Regions from separate parts of the Homo sapiens genome. Here region 2 is linked to region 1. The links are contacts of gene promoters, found by promoter capture Hi-C in human tissues and cell types (Jung and others, 2019). All regions are on one chromosome and are shown on one strand. Each heading gives the region's core, a stretch centred on a gene start or on the middle of the fragment in contact. The rest is flanking DNA. Distances are from core to core; before and after follow the strand shown. Region 1 holds the start of PAIP2 (poly(A) binding protein interacting protein 2). Region 2 overlaps SIL1 (SIL1 nucleotide exchange factor).

The links. Contacts are between HindIII fragments. The study calls those that stand out against the background at their distance.
Region 2: a contact is called between a fragment that was not itself captured here and the fragment with the promoter of PAIP2 in region 1, in 1 of the 25 tissues and cell types used here (liver).

Annotation. Positions count from the first base shown.
Region 1 is chr5:139,338,004-139,344,216 of GRCh38, forward strand. It overlaps PAIP2 (poly(A) binding protein interacting protein 2), which reads left to right and starts at 3,851. Exons shown (of 4, transcript NM_016480.5): 1 at 3,851-3,977. The HindIII fragment of the contact is 8,924 bases long and covers 1-6,213 here.
Region 2 is chr5:138,988,876-138,995,088 of GRCh38, forward strand. The region is part of intron 7 of SIL1 (SIL1 nucleotide exchange factor); the gene reads right to left. Among named protein-coding and RNA genes, the nearest start is that of LRRTM2, 120 kb to the left of the region's middle. The HindIII fragment of the contact is 6,948 bases long and covers 1-6,213 here.

The DNA of each region.
Region 1 (6,213 bases), core at 2,601-5,100:
TGGCCAAGTTTGGCTCTTTAAGGCCAGGTGAGTTTTAAACTTCACTAAACAACTTTTTTAGGAAAACCCACCACTTACTGTCTGTGTATCCTTAGTGCCTAGATCAGTGCAGGCATAAGTAGGCATTTTAAAAGTTGAATAATACTTGATCCCCTCACCTTCTCATTCAGAGCAGGGACCTTTGCTTACCCTGCAGTGTTAGGCCCTTACTCAACCCTACATACCTACGCTAGCTAGCTACATTCTCTGCCTACCTTGATACAAAGGAGCATAGGAACCATTACTGAAGCACTATAGGAACCTATGTAAGAGTTCATTTTGGGGGGGTGTGTTTTCTTGTTTATAAATGCAATATGCAATTCAAGCTTTCCTAGAGAATTTAGACAATATTTTTAAAATTCAGAAAATATTGACTCCTTTGAAATCTGACCACCAGGAAGGCCGGGCACGGTGGCTCACGCATGTAATCCCAGCACCTTGGGGGGCCGAGGCAGGCGGATCACGAGGTCAGGAGTTCAAGCCTTGCCAACATGGTGAAACCCCGTCTCTACTAAAAATACAAAAATTAGCTGGGCATGGTGGTGCGCGCCTGCAGTCTCAGCTACTTGGGAGGCTGAGGCAGGAGAATCACTTGAACTGGGACCTGGGAAGCAGAGATTGCAGTGAGCCGAGATCGTGCCACTGCACTCCAGCCTGGCCTACAGAGCGAGACTCCATCTCAAAAAAAAAAAAAAAAAAAAAAAAAAAAAAAGAAATCTGACCACCCAGAAATACTGCTATTAACATTTTGATGACCATTCTATCAGATACTTGGCATTTATACCTACTCGTGCCTGTTTACATATAAAATTTTGAAAGATTTTACAAACATGCTGTTTTGCAACCTGCTCTTTTAAAAAGCATTGATATATTCTATATCAATGAATATACATATTTTAAATAACTATTTTAATGCATCATTATTCATTTAACCAATTTCCTGTTGATAGGCATTTTGATCTTTTGGGTTTTATAACCAGGCTATAAATATTCTTACATGTCTCTCTTTACATCTGTCCATTTGGGTAGATTCCTATATTTGGAATGTTTGGGTAAGAAGGTACATACTTTTTACATTATTGATGAGAAATGAGGGGTCTGTAGGAAGGTGGTAATTTACAGTGGGGGCCTACTCATAGCCATCCTGGGCCTTCTGATTTCTACTTCAACCTCCATCTTAAGATGGTTACTATGTGAACCAGATAGGTAAATTTTTGCAGTGTTTTAAAACTGGATCTCTCTGTTGGTCCCATTGCAGTGTCTCTCCTTACCATTAGCAAACTTGTTAGCCTTCATTATTTTGTTTTCCATGTATAGATCATCACCATCACTATCCAAGTATAATATTGCTACATTGAAGTTTATTTTGCATGTGAGCAGAGTGTCCTTATGTCTAGAGAATGCCAAGGAAATACTGGGCCCCTGACGCTTAGCCACTGTGGTGAACTCTCAGTGCGATCTGGAAATTGAGATCTTAACCCCTTTGTGTGGGAAAAACAGCATTGGCCTTTGAGTGTTTCACATGATTTATCAAATATTTTTTATTACCATTATAACCAGTTAAGTGGCTTGTGTTACTAAATAACAAATTCAATTATCTCATGTTTACCTTTTTGTTTATTTGTTTGTTTTAAGACAGAGTCTCACTCTGTCACCCAGGCTGGAATGCAATGGCATGCTCTGGGCTCACCGCAACCTCCTCCTCCCGGGTTCAAGCGATTCTCCTGCCTCAGCCTCGCGGGTAGCTGAGACTACAGGCATGTGCCACCACATCCGGCTAATTTTTGTATTTTTATTAGAGATAGGGTTTCACCATGTTGGCCAGGCTGGTCTCAAACTCCTGACCTCATGATCTGCCCGCCTCAGCCTCCCAAAGTGCTGGGATTACAGGTGTGAGCCACCGCACCTGGCCTCATGCTTACCTTTTAAGAGAGTCTGGGTTAGGCCAGGCCCTGTGGCTCACGGCTGTAATCCCAGCACCTTGGGAAGCTGAAGCGGGCAGATCATTTGAGCCCAGGAGTTCAAGACCAGCCTGGGCAATATGGCAAAACCTCATTTCTACAAAAAATTCAAAAATTAGCCAGGCATGGTGGTACACACCTGTGGTCTCAGCTACTTTGCAAGCTGAGGTTTGAGGATTGCTTGAGCCAGGGAGGTTGCGGCTGTAGTGAACCGTGATCATGCCACTGCACTCCAGCCTGGGTGATGGAAGACTGTGTCTTAAAAAGAGAGTCTGAGTCATCTCAGACTATATAAATACCTATTTTGTTATGTTCAGACTTCCTTCAGCCTCAGATTGATAGCTTATCTTCACAGTTTAGAATATAGATCTGTAAGTGCTGCCAAGGTGGTTGACCCAGGAGCTAGGGCAGAACCATCTGCATTCATTTCTTTGGGGCTTTGGACTGGCCCAGAAGAGTATTCAGTGAATGAAATAGCTCTGAAGAGGAACAACCCGGTTTCTAAATTCAAGCCTTCCCATGGAGGGAATTTTTTGTCTTAGTAAATACTACAAGCATATAGTTTTTAAAAGATTCAAATTTTTCAGGAGAAAAGGATAGTTATTTGCACCCATTTCCTAGTCGGTCATTTGCCCTCTCCAAAGGGAAGAAATTAGTTTGTGTCCCTTTTTCAAAGATAGTATCTACACATTTGAACATCCAGATTTGTAAAACACATACTCTCGGCCGGGTGCGGTGGCTCACACCTGTAATCCTAGCACTTTGAGAGGCGGAGGCGGGTGGATCACGAGGTCAGGAGATCGAGACCATCCTGGCCAACACGGTGAAACCCCTATCTCTACTAAAAGTACAAAAATTGGCCGGGTGTGCTGGCGTGCGCCTGTAGTCCCAGCTACTTGGGAGGCTGTGGCAGGAGAATCTCTTGAACCCGGGAGGCGGAGGTTGCAGTGAGCCGAGATGGCGCCACTGCACTCCAGCCTGGGCAAGAGAGCCAGACTCCGCCTCAAAAAAACAAAACAAAACAAAAAAACAAAAACATACTCTCTTCTTTACATTGCTTAGTGTCACTAGAAATATATCTTGGGGCTTGTCAACGATGACAGGAAGGAAGCATGGGTAAGAATAACTATGGGGCCAGTGCACCCAGGATCACGGACTACAAAATTCTTGAACCCGGAGGTCACACTTTTCTATCCTGTGTGGACAGGGCATTTCCTCCTTTAGCCACAAAGAAGTTGCACATGTATTTGTATTTTGCGTTTGCATCCAGCTTCAAAAAGTGTGTTTTTGTGCCTGCACATGTCTGAGTGCGGATGTTTGCATATCATTTAGTACGCCTCTGTGATTTCCCTTAGTTTATTATTTTTCTGTGTCAGGATCTTGACGTGACTCGGTGCATGTCGCTGTTTGTGTGACATTGTGTATCATTCTTGGGGTGTGTATGGGTATGTGTGTGCTATGTCATTACCTAAATATTACGTTTTTGGGGGGGTGTGTGATGTCTGTGAAAGTCCACGCCTGTGTATCTTGTCAGGGTGCTCTTCAGTCCCCAGCTGCCTCACTCATTGCATATCATCATTCTCGGAAGATGGGCGGGTGTGGGAACAGTGGTACGCCCCCATTCCTGCCTTCCAGAGAGAACGTGCGACAGCGTTCCTGCTACACCCGGCAGCCGGCCGTAGGGGCGCGCTGGAAAGGCTGCTGCGCGTGCACACGTGTGCAGCCTTGGAGACAGACTTCGGGGTCGCGCGTTCTCGCGCGCGCTCTCTAGTGGCTTCGGAGGGCAGAGCTGACAGAACAAGAGGGCGGGGTTGGCGGCGACGGAAGTGAAGTCACTTCCGGGCTGGGGTGTTTGTTTGGACTGGAGAAGGGAGGCGGCGGGCGAAGCGCACGTCGAGCGGGGGAGCGGCGCTGCCTGTGGAGATCCGCGGAGGCCGACAGGATTCGTTGGCTGCCGTCCCCGCTGCTGTGCATTGGGTGAGGGGTCCTCTCGGGCAGAGTGGCGACAGGGGTGCGGAGGTCGAGGGACAGCAAGTCGGCGACGGCAGAGGGGCCTAAAGGGTTCCCTGGGTGGTTGGCCACCGAGTCCATTGCGGCCTCCGTTGTTCATTGCCTCTTTCCACCAAGTCTGAGGGATGAGCTTGGGCCGACTTCGTCTCTGTCTTCTCCGAGACATGGCCGTCGCTTTTTTTTCATTGTCATTATTAATGATTTGGATCTCGCAGCTCTCTATCCGGGTCCTCAGTGGCGCGAGGGTTGCCGGGATAGCACTTTCTCCTGTTCCTCATTCTCCCGGTCCTTTATCCCTCCGCCGGGTACCCTTTCCCCTGCCCCCCTCCCACCGCCTCGGCAACAAAGCTTATTGTTTCTACCCACTTTACGCCTGCGCGTCGCCACGCGCAGCCCCTACTTGCTGCGCGTGCGCGCCTCAGCCGAGGCTGGGGTTTGGGGAGAGAGGGGCGGAGGGACTGGCGGGCTCTTGGCGTCTTGGGGGAACGCTGCAACCGTCGACGGGCCTGATCAGAAGATCGTCTTTCTCCCGTTTCTTCGCCATCGCTACCCCTTATTTTTGGTTGTATTGCAGCTCATGCCCTGGAAAAAAGAACCTTTGGGGTACTGGGAACCCTTACCCTAGGAGGGCGTTGAGTTAGATGAACTTTAAGGTCCTCTTACCTTTTAATAATTTTCTGTGCTTACTCTCCTCCTTCCCCACCATCGCCACCAGAAATAAATAAGGCTTGTGGTGAACTTAGGTCTTCAAAACATTTGTTGCAGCAGCCAGCAGTGATATTTTTTAGGGACTCCTAAAAGGGGTCTTACCTGCTTCCTTTTGTTTCTTTTTTCCCTGATTTGGCACCCGTATCAACTCATAAAAACCCCAAACTCTAGAAAGAATTTGGCTTCCAATTTGCCTTGGAAGGTGTAGCAGCTGACAGCCTTTGACGTTTATTTCAACGGAAAGTAGATGTTCATGTTGGGTGTGCTGGCTAATGTTGAAACGTGGTGGCATTGTTTTTTCACAGATTTCATTAGCACAGTTAGATCAGGTGTTGGTTTATATTTTCATTAAGTCGCTTTTGAAATTTCTTCTGGCGTAGGTTGTGTTTGCAATAAGTAAAAGTTCTCTACAATAATTTTTAATGAGACTCCACTATTTGCTTTTGTGATTCTGTTTCCAGTTAGTGAAAGACAGGATATTTGGGGAAAATTAGTCTGTTTATACTACTTGTCAGTTGTGAACTTGAATAAAACTTTTTCACACACACACAAAATCACAGGATAGGTAACTTGACAAGAACTATAGAACCCACTTGTGTTTCTTTAAGGGATGGAGGTTAGGGAATGGAGATTTCCTCTAATGATTCAAGGCTGTGCACGTTGCTCCTTAGGAACTCAAATTGAGGTAGGTAATTTCACCCTCTTTTGGTCAGAATGAGTTTATAGCAGGCTTTTCCTTAAATAAGCACTCTGCACTTTATTCAGGTTTATCACTTTATGACTCTAGAGTGTGATGCTCCAGTTTTAGTGAAAAACTTGAACACTTAGCACAGCAATTTGGTTGATACTGTGGGAGATTAAAGAATGTGGAAGGCAAGACCTCTGCCCCCTTGTAATCTAATAACCTTTTGTGCTTTTAAAACATTTTCTTGTAATTTACATCCTATTGTCATTCATTATCATGAAACGTGAAATGGGCAGAGCAAGTTTTTTTTTTTTTTTTTTTTTGAGATGGAGTCTCACTCTGTCGCCAGGCTGGAGTGCTGGAGTGCAGTGGCGCAATTGGCTCACTGCAACCTCCGCCTCCCCGGGTTCAAGCGATTCTCCTGCCTCCGCCTCCCTAGTAGCTGGGACTACAGGCGCTTGCCACCACGCCGGCTAATTTTTTGTATTTTTAGTAGAGACAGGGTTTCACCGTGTTAGCCAGGATGGTCTCGATCTCCTGACTTTGTGATCCGCCCCCGTCGGCCTCCCAACAGAGCAAGTTTTATCTTGCCCATTTGGGAATTAAAGAAATAGAAGCCTGAAAGATTATTTTTATTTAGCAAATATTTATATAACAATAATGCCAGGCATTGTTCTCATTGCCTTTACAAATATTAACTAATTTGATCCACAACATAGCTAGAAGGTAGGCCCTACTGTAAAATGAAGATAACAAATGAGACGTGAAGTAACTTTCCCAATGTCACAGAGCTATGATAGTCGGAATTCA
Region 2 (6,213 bases), core at 2,215-4,714, 350 kb before region 1:
AATAAGCAAACAAAATACTTATATAGTTAAACAGAAAAAGTAAATTACAGAATGATGAATCTACAGTAAACTGCCTTTCATGTAAAAACAATATATGGAAATATTTACTTTAACATGGAAAAATATCTCTAGAAGAAACTGACAACACTGGTTGCCTTGAGGCAGGGAAGCAGGGTAGCAAAGGGACACGGTGGAAGGACACAGTGGAGGATACTTTTCATATCCTCTGGTGCCGTTTGAATTTTGAGCCATGTGACTGTATTACCAAATCAGAGTTGAAAACATGAAGTTTAAGTAAGTCATCTCATAGACAGTAATCTGGACACTTACCAAAATACTACAGAGAAGTCAGACCATGTTCCACAGGGAAAACAAGAATCTTATATATCCCAGCCAGGCATGGTGGCTCACACCTGTAATCCCAGCACTTTGGGAGGCCAAGGCGGGCAGATCACTTGAGGCCAGGAGTTCTAGACCAGCCTGGCCAACACAGTGAAACCCCATCTCTACCAAAAATTACAGAAATTATCTTAGTCATATGGTTTGAATGAACCTCTGTGTACAGACTTCACGAACACCATCAAGATTAGCCATGGCAAGAGAAAAATGGGGCCCCCAGTGGTCACTACACATATCTGAGGGCAGATGGCAGCAGCACAGGAGGGAGGGAAGAAAGAGAGGAAGGAAGACAGGAAGGAAAGGAGAGAGATACGGAAGGAGGGAGGGGAAGAAGGCTGGAAACAAGGGCCGCACTCCTTTATGTAGGACACCTTTTGCCCTCTAAGGCATCATCTAGCTTGATAAGCCCCCAACAGTTTCTCTCCTTTGCAAAAGGGGAAACTGCAGCTCATTTAAGTCACAGTTCATAGTGAGTTACAGGGGTGGAGAGGGTGGCTTTACATGAACTTTGCAGGAACACATCACTTCTGATCCTAGGACTTCTCTAACTGCACGGGAAATGCCATCTGAAGGCCATGTCTTATCCTGAAAACTCAGAGTTTCTGACTCATCTTCTCATTCTGACTGCCAGCTGGCTCTGTGGTCTTGAACAAATCACTGCAGCAGAGGTACTGAGTGGGAACAGAGGCTCCTCCATTCAGCCACTGATCACTGTCCATGGCTCTTTGGGAAAGGCATGCGTGCGACAGGAATTTCACGTTAAGGGTCACAGGTAGGCACCAGGGCTTGCGTCTTCCTGCCCTCTCTTCCTGGACCGCCCAGCAAGTTTACTCCTGGTCCCATTTTTTTGCTTTGGCCTTTGCTTCTCTTTGAATCTTTGTATCCAACCCAATGTGAGCGTACACTTACCCAAGAGTTTTCCATCTAGACAATGAGGACTGTGGAAAGACACTTGCTCAGAGCAAAGGCACCAGTGTGACCACTATGAGGGAAGGTTGTCCTAGGATGCCCACAGAGATCCCAGTCTAATGCCAAACAGCAACTCTAACCAGGGCAGCCTTTAGTCTCAACTCCTTGCCATGAGAATCTAAATGACCAGATAACCGTAGAAGGTAACCTGGGGAGGACTGCTGGGAATTGGGCAGATGACTTTCATTCTATTTTCTAGATGCTTTCCAGCTGGCTTTTTATTTATTTTGAGACAGGGTTTCATTCTGCTGCCCAGGCTGGAGTCCAGTGGCGTTATCATGGCTCACTGCAGCCTCGACCTCCCAGGTTCAAGGGATCCTCCCACTTCAGTCTCCAACCATGCCTGGATAATTTTGTTGTTTTTGTTAGAGATGGGATCTCACTATTTTGTCCAGGCTGGTCCCAAATTCCAGGGCTCAAGTGATCCTCTCACCTCAGTCTCACAAAGTGCTAGGATTAGAGGCATGAGCCCCAAACAGGCCCCAGCTGGCTTTTCTTTTCTTCGTGACAGAGTCTTGCTGAAGTCCAGTGGCGCGATCTCGGCTCACCGCAACCTCTACCTCCTGGGTTCAAGCGATTCTCCTGCCTTAGCCTCCCAAGTAGCTGGGATTACAGGCACCCATCATCACATCTGTCTAATTTTTGTATTTTTAGTAGAGACGGGGTTTTGCCATGTTGGCCAGGCTCGTCTCAAACTCCCAGCCTCAGGTGATCCGCCTGCCTCAGCTTCCTAAAGTGTTGGGATTACAGGCGTTAGCCACCATGCCCCACCCCCAGCCGGCTTTTTAAAACAGTCTTTATCCTTTCCTTTTTCCGGGTGATCTGAAAAATGAAGGCTTCATGACAGGAGTCTCTATAGCCTACACCATCCTGCAATTGCCAGTCAGAAAGAGTAGGAAGGCCTGAGACATTCTGTTTTCTGGCGTGTTGGCCAGATGCTCTGGATGGAGGCTGGGGCACCAGGGCCAGCTATAATCTTTTCCCAGCAGCCTGGCTGAAGTAGCTGTGGGACCAAGGCAACTGATTAAATGCAGAATAAAAGCTGAGAGAAAATGGGATAGAAATAAATTAGCTTTAGACCTCAAGGCTGTGTATGCAAGTGAAATGCAGTAGGGGCTGGGAGGCAGCATGGGAAGTCAGTCTTAGAGATTTCCCTGAAACAAAGGGATTATGGATTGTCCAATACAAGGAAATCCTTCTGTTCCACAGCCACATGACAGCCTCTTTTACTCAGGGCTGTTCATTCCACATTTTGCACACATTCTGAGATAATGGGATACACTAACTCCCTAAAAAAGCCCCAAGACTCCCCCAGCAGGCCTTCTATCCAGGCAGCACAGGCTGCAAAGCAGGGCTGGTCATCATCAGGGTACAGGGTCGATATTTCCTGCCATCCTTCAATAGTTGCCCTCCCTCTATCCTTGACAGATTCTCCACTTTTAAGTATTGAACTATGGTTACAGAAGAAGAGCTGCTGGGAGAGAATACATCTAACTGATCAGAATTTAACAAACAAACACTCAAAAGTATTTGGCAGAAGGAGAGAAGAGAAGAAATACAACGGAGAAGGTTCCCCATCTATGTCCTTGTGACTTAAATATCACAGAGAACCCATCCAGAAGGGGCTTGATCCAAAAAATGGACCATAGCAGCAGAGTTTAGAAGCATGCTTACTCTAGTTAAATCAGGGCTATTTCTAAAAAGGCTGGTCAGAGCTCTCTTTCAGGTTTGCTGCCAAAGGGCAGAAGCCTGTAGGTACTGGACTCCTGATGAGGCTCACTCCAGTCAGTGCCCACTGTACACCTTCTAATGCATACGCAGACCATGGAAGGAAAGCAAGGTGCAGAACGGATGTACTGAGTCCCATGGCAATCACTACACGACTATGGGTGCTAGGCTGAATGAGGAGACCTTGCCACAAATCCCACCTGCTCCCTCCCTATCATTACCTATATCCTCCAGATATCCAAGTCAAAAGCTTGTGTGAGTGATGAAGAAAGAGACTAGGAACCCCACTCAAGACCTTCAGAGAGATGGCCCTTTCTGAGAGAGTCTGCTAGCTCTTCAAACTATAGAAAGAACATGGGCTTTGACATCAATGCTTTAGGTTTGAAGTGTAACCATCCCATAAGTTAACTGCATGCTCTTGGGTGAGGACCCTCCTCTGTGAAGCCAAAATCCTACCCCTCACTCTGGCAGTTGTTGTGAGGATTAAATGAGACAGTATATGTAAAGCCCCTGCCCCTAGCAGGCTCCTTTTCCACAGCCAGCCTTTCTCATATCCACAGCATACCTGGTCCAGGTGAGTCCAGTACTCTCTTGGTATGCTATGCTCTTCTACACATAAGAAATAGAGTAATTGGTAATTTTTCAGGTTATCTTTTCAAACATCAAAAAAATAAATAATCCTTGGGCGCTAAACTACAAGGACACAAAGGCCTAAGAATTATATAATGGACTTTGGGGACTCGGGGAAGGGTGGGAGGGGGTGAGGGATAAAAGACTACACACATTGGGTATAGTGTACACTGTTCTGGTGACAGGTGCACCAAAATCTCAGAAATCACCACTAAAGAACTTATCCAGGCAACTAAACACCACCTGTTCCCAAAAAACTATTGAAAAAAGTAAAATTTAGAAAATAATAATTAAAAAAATATAAATAAATAATCTTATGCTAAACTATTCCAGAGCCAAGAGAAAAGAGAAACTTTTTCTTTTGTAACTGAAAGCTAGCTGAGATGGAAGCTGCTAGTGGTCCCCCACAATCTGTTCTCCCATTCTTCCACAGTAGCAGAATTTTTGCTGGGCAAATAAAGTATAAAGACTATATTTCTCGGCCTCCTTTGCAGGGAGGTATGGCCAAGGCACTACGTTTTGGCCAACAGATTATAAGCAGAAGCATCATTTGACAGCTTCTGGGATCCCCTTAAGAGATTTTTAAGTGCCCTTTACCTCCTCTTCTATGTCGCTCCTTCCACCCTGCTCCCTGGAATGCAGATCTTGCCATCTGGGATGATGAGGAAGGGCTATTCCTTAGGGATGGCATCCTAGTGTGACTCGAAGGAACTCAAGACCCAAGAGTCTACCCACAATACAGTTGCCACACCAACCCAAAGCTGCTGACCTGAAGATGCTGTTTACATGGAAAAAATAAATATCTATCCCATTATGTCATTTTCTGTCACTTCCAGAAATATGATGTCTAGGCCACAGCCAGACGCATCCTTGTGTAATTACCTCCCATTGGGTGTGGGAATATGACATGCTTCCAACCAATGGAATACGGCAAAGGTGACAAGATATATACGACTATGTGTATGTGATTACACTACGTAAGACGGTAACATCTGTTTTGCTGAGAAACACTCTCCCTTGCTGGCTCTGAAGAAGCAGGCTGCCATGTTGTGAGCTGCTTATGGAGATAGCCATGTGGCAAGGAACTGAGGGCAGCCTCCCACCAGCAACAAACTAAGGTCTTTAATCTGACAGCCTGCAAAGAACTGAACTCTGCCAACAACCACATCAGTTTAAAAGGAAATGCTTCCCAGTCAAGTGCCATATTAGACCCTAGCTCCAGCTGACACCTTGGACTACGGCAATGCAGAGGACCCGACAAAGTCACACTTGGACTCCTGACCTACAGAAAGTGTAATATAATAAGTGTGCATTGTTTTAAGCCACTAAGTTTGTGAGAATTTGTTACATAGCAATAGATAACTAATACAATGACCAAAAACATTTATTTCAGAAATGTAAGGATGATTCACTACTAGATAATATATAAATAAATTCATCAACCTATGGAAGATATCATATTTAGTGGTAAAATATTAGAATCATTCCCTTTAAAGACAGGAAAAGGATAAGGATGTCTACTAGTATTTCAATAAACACTGTATTAAAGGTGCTAGACATTGCAATAAGAAAGAGAAATGGAGGATAAAGATTGAAAAGAAACAAAATTATTTTTATATTAAATGATACGATTATCTACAAATAACATCCAAGAAAAAATGTAAACTATTAGAACTAATAAGACATCAGCAAGTTTGTTGGCTATAAAGTCATATACCAGCAACAAACAATTATAAAATAAAAACTTGAAAATTAACCTCTTTACAATAACAAATACTATGAGGTAATTAGGCATAACAAAAGAGATTGATTCACTACCTATATGGAAAAAATTATGATGTTTTATTAAAAGATGTGAGACCATCTAACTGGAAAGACATATCATGTTCATGAACAGAAACACATTTTATAAATATGTTAATTCTCATAAATTAATCTATACATTTACTGCATTCTAGCTTAAATATCCAGTGTTTTGTTGAGCCTCACAGAGTATGCCTAAAATCCATATGGAAGAGTAAAGCGCCAAAAATATCCAAGGCAATTTTTAAATTAATAAATAATAGATGTACATATTTTGGGGATACGTGTAATAAATTTTTAATAAATTTAATTTCCGGGACACACGTACAGGACATGCAAGTTTGTTACATGTAAACATGTGCCATGGTGGTTTGCTGCACCTATCAGCCCATCACCTAGGTATTAAGCCCTGCATGCATTAACTATTTATCCTGATGCTCTCCCACCTCTTGCCCCCCAGCCAACCACCCCAACAGGTTCCAGTGTATGTTGTTCCTCTTCCTGTGTCCATGTGTTCTCATTGTTCAGCTCCCACTTATAAGTGATAATATGTGGTGTTTGGTTTTCTGTTTTTGCATTAGTTTGCTGAGGATAATGGCTTCGAGCTCCATTCATGTCCTGCAAAGGACATGATCTTGTTCCTTTTTACAGCTGCATATGTACCACATTTTCTTTATCCAGTCT